Linked DNA regions of Homo sapiens: region 2 is linked to region 1. Evidence: promoter capture Hi-C in human tissues and cell types (Jung and others, 2019). All regions are on one chromosome and are shown on one strand. Each heading gives the region's core, a stretch centred on a gene start or on the middle of the fragment in contact. The rest is flanking DNA. Distances are from core to core; before and after follow the strand shown.

Region 1 (3,510 bases), core at 277-2,776:
ACATGGTAAAACCCCATCTCTACTAAAAATACAAAAATTAGCCAGGTGTGGTGATGAGCGGCTGTAGTCCCAGTTATTTGGGAGGCTGAGGCAGGAGAATAGCTTGAACCTGGGAGACAGAGGTTGCAGTAAGTCGAGATTGCACCACTGCACTCCCACCTGGGCAACAGAGCAAGACTCCGTCTCAAAAAAAAAAAAAAGAAAGCAGCTCTCTTTTGCTTTCATTGTTCACCGCAGGCCCTGGAAATTTAGCATTCTGGGCTAGATGACAAAGTAGTTTAGTTTGTTGACATACGTTAATTCATTCATTCATTTACTTAAGAGAAGGGTCTGGCTCTGTCACCCAGGCTGGAGTGCAGTGGAGTGATCGTTGCTTGCTTCAAACTCCTAGGCTCAAGCGATCCTCTCACTTCAACTTCCCAAGTAGCTGGGCCTACAGCTGCACACTGCCACGTCCCGCTACTTTTTCATGTCTGGCTGTTGCCCAGGCTGGTGTCGAACTCCTGGACTCAAGCGATCCTCTCACCTCAGCCTCCCAAAGCACTGGGATTACAGGCGTAAGCCACCGCGCCCAGCCGACACTGGTTTTAAGTAAAAGAATGAAAACTATTGCTTCAAGCAGTGTTCCCGGATGTCTATCTCTGCCCCAGTTTACCCTGACATTGGTGTCCACGCCGGCAGACGCCAGTCTGTGGATCCTCCCAGCCGTCCCATGCTGGAAGTCCAGGCTGTACACGGGCTCCTTGTTGTGCCAGGCTATTTCACAAGTGATGACTTTCATCCTCCTGAGTCTCGAAGGGGAAAAACGTTTCTCGGGCACCGTTCTACTTCTTCAAGACAGGAGAAAGCTGCAAAATGCTGGTGATGGATTAAACAACAGTGTTAACAGCAGCAAAGGGTTATTGAGCGCTGAATAGGGGCCAGGAGCCATTTAAAATGCACACTGCATTGGGAAAGGATGTTAACGTTGCCATCTGACAATAACACCTTGCTAGCTCCACCTAAAATGCTTCGCTGGGTCCTGACATCCACAAGTTTATGATACGCCGCTACATCCAGAAAAGCAAAACGAAACACCCAGGTAAAGGCTACCTAGGGGCCCCGGCCGTCTGCACGGCCTGTCCCCGCTTAGTAGGGGCTAGGGGCGCGCCCTGAGAGCCCGGGGAGGGGCCCGCCCCGGGAGGAGCCTCCCGGAAGAGGGGGCCAAACGGGGTAGGGGACCGGGGCGGCGGGGCGAGAGGAGAACCCCGCCTTTCCCAGGGACCGGGCGCTGGGCCCGGGAAGCTGGGACTGAGGCCGCCGGGAGGAGGCCGCGCGGGGCCGGGGGTGGACGGGGCCCCGCCGCCCCAACGCGCGCCGCTCCGGAGCTATCCCGGGGCCCAGGGGCCCGCCCTCGGCGAGGGCCTCTGGCCCGGACCGACGCGACCAAAAGAGCCGCGGAGCTGCCCGGGCCAGGGAAGCCGTACCTGGAGGGACCCGGACAGTCAGAGGCACCGTCACCTCCCGCGCAGCGCGCGCCGCTTCCCGCGCGCCGCAGGCCCCGCCCCCGCATGGGCGGGACCTCATAGACGCCCCGCCCCTCCAGCGGCCCTCAGGTCCCGCCCGACGTGGGCGGTACCCCAGGGAAGCCCCGCCCACTCATAGACGCCAAGGCGAGTCCTGCTCTGGCCCTGGGGTCGGAATCCCGGCCGGAATTTATGCCTGCCAGACCCACGACCGAAGGAAGAATGGATTCATTATTATTTATTATTATTATCCATTACTTATTCCTTGTTGATTCGCTCTTTTAGCAAAGGTTTACAGAGCCTGGGCTGTGTGTTAGACAGACCCTATGCTGGCGCTGGGCACTTGGAGGGCTAACACAACCGGTTCTCTTGCCCCTTCTGCAAACAAAAACTGAGATTTTTGGGTTTTCTGTATTGGCTTCTAGAACATTTTGGAGAGTTCAAAGCTATGAAATTGTTCAGTACCTAGCGCAAGGTTGCTTACATTTTATTATTATAGTAGATGCAGTTATAAACCCTTTTTAAGAACAGACTAACATTTTAAAGTGAGGCTGTAAATCAGTCGGTAGGCAGAGATAGATACCTCAGGCTTTTCGAAATGGGACGTTTCCAAATGAGACCTAATTTATCTGTGGGCTTCGCAGAAGGCCAGGAAACAAGTACCTCTGGATGCGCTGCTTTTACTGGATAAAAGAAACACACAGGGTTATCTGAGGAGCCAACTGCTCTAGGATTTTTGGAAAAAAAGAACAGACATGGATTCTTATATAAATACCGGCTGATGCTTTTAGCCAGCTTTATGAAAGGTACAGAAATTGCCTACAAATCCGTGTCTCATGTTGATGAGAATGGCTGTATGCTCCTTGAAGCCTGATTTCTACAGGAAGCTAGAATAACATAATCCGGATATGCAGTTTTTAGATTTTTCTCTTCAGGATTTACAGAGCTTGGACTGGGAATGACTATATACTTTAGATAATATGGCTGTTCTAAAAGTACAGATTCCTGGCCCTACTCAGCCCCATGATTCCGAATATCCAGCAGAGGCCCGTGCTCCAGGGGCTTGCATTTTCATAAACTCCCCGGTGGGTGTGATCATCAGTCTGTTTTGGAAAGCTCTGGATTCTTCGTGTCTCTCAAACATAAAATTTCTCCAAATTTCTCATAAATGCTGTTCATTCACAAATGAATAATCTGCCCACCTCTTGAAGTGTCACGACTCTGAACTGTGGATTTAAAAGATAAAAACACATGCTTTAAGTATTAAAAGTACATGAAGGAGTTGGCTTTCTTGGCGAACATTTTAGAGATCCGACTTCAGTGCCAACTTGATGAGCCAACACGGGCAGGGGATGCGGCTCTAGAGAGAGGCCCTGGGCTGTCAAATATTTTCTCAAAAAAAAAAAAAAAAGTATTTGTTCAAAACCTCAAAGTTTGCACCACAAATGTTGGACTAAAGAATTCCTGCCGGTCGCGGTAGCTCACGCCTGTAATCCCAGCACTTTAGGAGGCCGAGGTGGGCGGATCATGAGGTCAGGAGATCGAGGCCATCCTGGCTAACATGGTGAAACCCCATCTCTACAAAAATTACAAAAAATTAGTCGGGCGTGGCGGCGGGCGCCTGTAGTCCCAGCTACTCGGGAGGCTGAGGCAAGACAATGGCGTGAACCCGGGAAGCGGGGCTTGCAGTGAGCCGAGATCGTGCCACTGCACTCCAGCCTGGGCGAGAGAGCGAGACTCTGTCTCAAAAAAAAAAAAAAAAAAAAAAAAGGGAATTCCTATAACGCAATTCTAACTAGATTCCTCAACAACCACTGTTGTTCAGCTTGGGCCCCAAGCATCCATTTTGAGCAGAACTGCCTCAATTTAAGGGGACCAATGTTATTTGGTTCCTGAGAACTTTTTAATAATGAAAATTGATATAAAGGGACTAACTCTTAACTCAGCTTCGAAAAAAAACTTCTCAAGGCATTTTAATTTCCATTTGTAAGTGTGAACATTCTAA
Region 2 (3,123 bases), core at 55-2,554, 120 kb after region 1:
AGCACAGATGAAACCACTTGGGGCTTGTGATTGGCATCTGAGGGGGTGGGGCAGTCTTGTGGGACTGAGCCCTCAACCTGCAGGATCTCAAGCTATCTCTAGGTGGGGAATGCCAGAATTGAATGGAATTGGACGGTGCCTATCTAGTGTCCACTGCAGAACTACTAGCTTGGTTGCTGGTGGGAAGCAATTCCCACACATTTTGGTTACGAGGTCACAGAAGGATTCTATGTTACGAGAGTGTGGTAGGAAAATCACACTTTGTTTTTTTCTATATCCTCAGTGGGGAAGAAGCATAGGGTGTCGCTCAAAACAGTAGGAAGGAATTAGTGGCGGGGAGGCCAGGTGTCATGAGACAGAAAGAAGCAGATGCCACCTGGTCCCCGCAACCAAAAGGAGCAGAGAAGAGGCATGCCAGCTGCAACAACGGAGGGAATGCCTGTGGCCAGAGCCCTGTCCAGGCTGGCTGAAGACAGAGGGGCCTGCTACAGGCAACAGGCCACGAAAGCAGGGAGGGCTTAGGTGAGCAAGTGCTATCCCAGCACCTGGACGTGCAGCATCGGCATTGTAACGTTTTCTTCTCTGGCTACAAGTCAAGGCCAAAGGAGGAGGCACTGGAATTTTCTAATTATGCTTTATGGTGTTTTTGTTTTTTTGTTTTTTGTTTTTGAGACGAAGTTTCACGCTTGTTGCCCAGGCTGGAGTACGGTGGTGAGATCTCGGCTCACTGTAACCTCTGCCTCCCAGGTTCAAGCGATTCTCCTGCCTCAGCCTCCTGAGTAGCTGGGATTATAGGCATCCGCCACCAGGCATGGCTAATTTTTGTATTTTCAGTAGAGGTGGGGTTTCACCATGTTGGCCAGGCTGGTCTTGAACCCCTGACCTCAGGTGATCCGCCCACCTTGGCCTCCCAAAGTGCTGGGATTGCAGGCGTGAGCCACCGCACACGGCCTACTGCACTTTATACAGTACTCTTGTGGTTCAGAACTGTGGACCTGAGGCTGTTTCTGGATATACCTTTCACAAATGCCAGGGATCATAAAGATTAGCAGTAGTATCGCCAAGGCTATAAATGTGATAGAAAAGCCAACTGAATCAATGTCTATAATGGTTTGCAAAACAGTGATTTTTCCAACTTCATCATAACTTCCGTATTTATTAGTTGGCATTCCACTCTGAGTTTTCCTTCTCCTATGATGAGTTTTATTTTTCAGTATTAAACAAATTGTTATGAGCATATATTACTGTTATAATGGGGGATAAGGCGTTTAAGGAAAGAAATCCATGTATGGAGGCTGGGTGTGGTAGCTCACGTCTGTAATCCCAGCACTTTGGGAGGCCAAGGTAGGAGGATCACCTGAGGTCAGGAGTCTGAGACCAGACCAGCCAACATGGAGAAAGCCCGCCTCTACTAAAAATACAAAAAATTAGCCGGGCGTGGTGGCATGTCTGTAATCTCAGCTACTTGGGAGACTGAGGCAGAAGAATCGCTTGAACCCCAGAGGTGGAGGTTTCAGTGAGCTGAGACCGTGCCACTGCACTCTAGCCTGGGTGATGGAGTGAGATTCTGTCCAACCCCCTGGCCCAAAAAAAAAAAAAAGAAAAAAAGAAATATCCATGTATGGAGATAGCTTCCTTTTTTAAAAAATTTTTTTGAGACAGGATCTCTCTCTGTTGCCAGGCTGAAGTGCAGTGGTGTGATCACAGCTCACTACAGCCTCAACCTCCCAGGCTCAAGGGATCCTTAGCCTCCCAAGTAGCTGGGACTATAGGTGTAGCTATCACACTAGGCTAATTTTTGTACTTTTGTAGAGATGAGGTCTCACTATGTTACCCAGATTGGTCTCAAACTCCTGAGCTTAAGCAATCTGCCCGCCTCAGCCTCCCAAAGTACTGGGATTACAAGTATGCGCCACCGCGTCTGGGGGGAAATAAGATTTCTTATTCCATTTATGTTTTACAGTGAGATCCACATACATCTGCATACAGTGTGGAGGGTGAGGGGTGCAGCTGTCAATTCCACAATCGATTGCTCAAGCATTACACAAGAACCTTCATCAGAAAACCCGGGCCCCGGGACTGTCCGAACTCTCTAGAGACAGTGATGGCAGAAGTAAGACTTGAGAACAAGTGCAAAGCTAACCTCAGATTCTGTCCAATGTCTCTTGTCTACCTGCTATCTGATATCCCCCAAAGGAGGACAGCACTGCTGGGGTAATATCATTTGGCTGAACCTCTTTCATATACAAACCTGCAGGTCTTTTTGGTCCTTCTTGTTTTCCAGGTTGGGAGTTCTTGTTACAAAGTCATTCAGCATGCTGTTGGGAGACAATCAGCTTCAGATTAAAAATGCTGCAGAAATAAAATATGTGCCAAGAGAAAATATTACACAATGACAATGTGGTGACATGATACCTGAGAAGCAGAAAATACCCAGGTGGGGCTAGATTCAACTGTACAGACTCTTTCAATACTCCCAACAGTGAAGAAAAGTTCTCTTGCAAGGCTGGTACTGGGAGCCTGTTTTTTTAAAAGATAGGAAAAATACTCAACCACGAACAAGTCAAAATACATTTATTTATAAGCATATTTAAGATCCTGGCAGTTGGAAAGCAAAGGGTAAACAGCATACCTCACTGACCTTTTTCTTTTTAAAAACTTACAATGTACATGAGCTAAACTTTGGTATTCTGGCAAACACTTGGAGTTTGAGAACCTGAAATCCTACTGCTGGCAGGTGAGATACTCCTGGTTTCTTTGTCTCTAAAATAAAAGCCTTAAATTAGATGATCGACCTTGACCTCTCAGGCCTTTTTTTTTTTTTTTTTGGTGAGACGGAGATTTACTTTTGTTGCCCAGGCTGGAGTGCAATGGCGTGATCTCGGCTCACTGCATCCTTCGCCTCCCAGGTTCAAGCGATTCTCCTGCCTCAGCCTCCCGAATAGCTGGGATTACAGGCATGTGCCACCACGCTCGGCTAATTTTGTATTTTTAGTAGCGACGGGGTTTCACCGTGTTGCCCAGGCTGATCTCGAACTCCCGACCTCAGGTGATCCACCCGCCTCGGCCTCCCAAAGTGCTGGGATTACAGGCGTGAGCCACTGCGCCCGGCCTTTCTTCTAT

What was found. The method cuts DNA at HindIII sites, captures the fragments that hold promoters and counts their contacts. A contact is called where the count stands out against the background at its distance.
Region 2: a contact is called between a fragment that was not itself captured here and the fragment with the promoter of CHAF1B in region 1, in 4 of the 25 tissues and cell types used here (H1 embryonic stem cells, dorsolateral prefrontal cortex, spleen and 1 more).

The regions. Positions count from the first base shown.
Region 1 is chr21:36,383,408-36,386,917 of GRCh38, reverse strand. It overlaps CHAF1B (chromatin assembly factor 1 subunit B), which reads right to left and starts at 1,526. Exons shown (of 14, transcript NM_005441.3): 1 at 1,467-1,526; 2 at 656-858. The coding sequence starts at 781. RefSeq lists enhancers at 74-573, 574-1,075 and silencers at 1,195-1,294, 1,325-1,694. The HindIII fragment of the contact is 18,705 bases long and covers 1-3,510 here.
Region 2 is chr21:36,262,943-36,266,065 of GRCh38, reverse strand. It overlaps DOP1B (DOP1 leucine zipper like protein B), which reads right to left. Exons shown (of 37, transcript NM_001320714.2): 25 at 2,416-2,520; 26 at 2,252-2,318. Among named protein-coding and RNA genes, the nearest start is that of MORC3, 56 kb to the left of the region's middle. The HindIII fragment of the contact is 7,013 bases long and covers 1-3,123 here.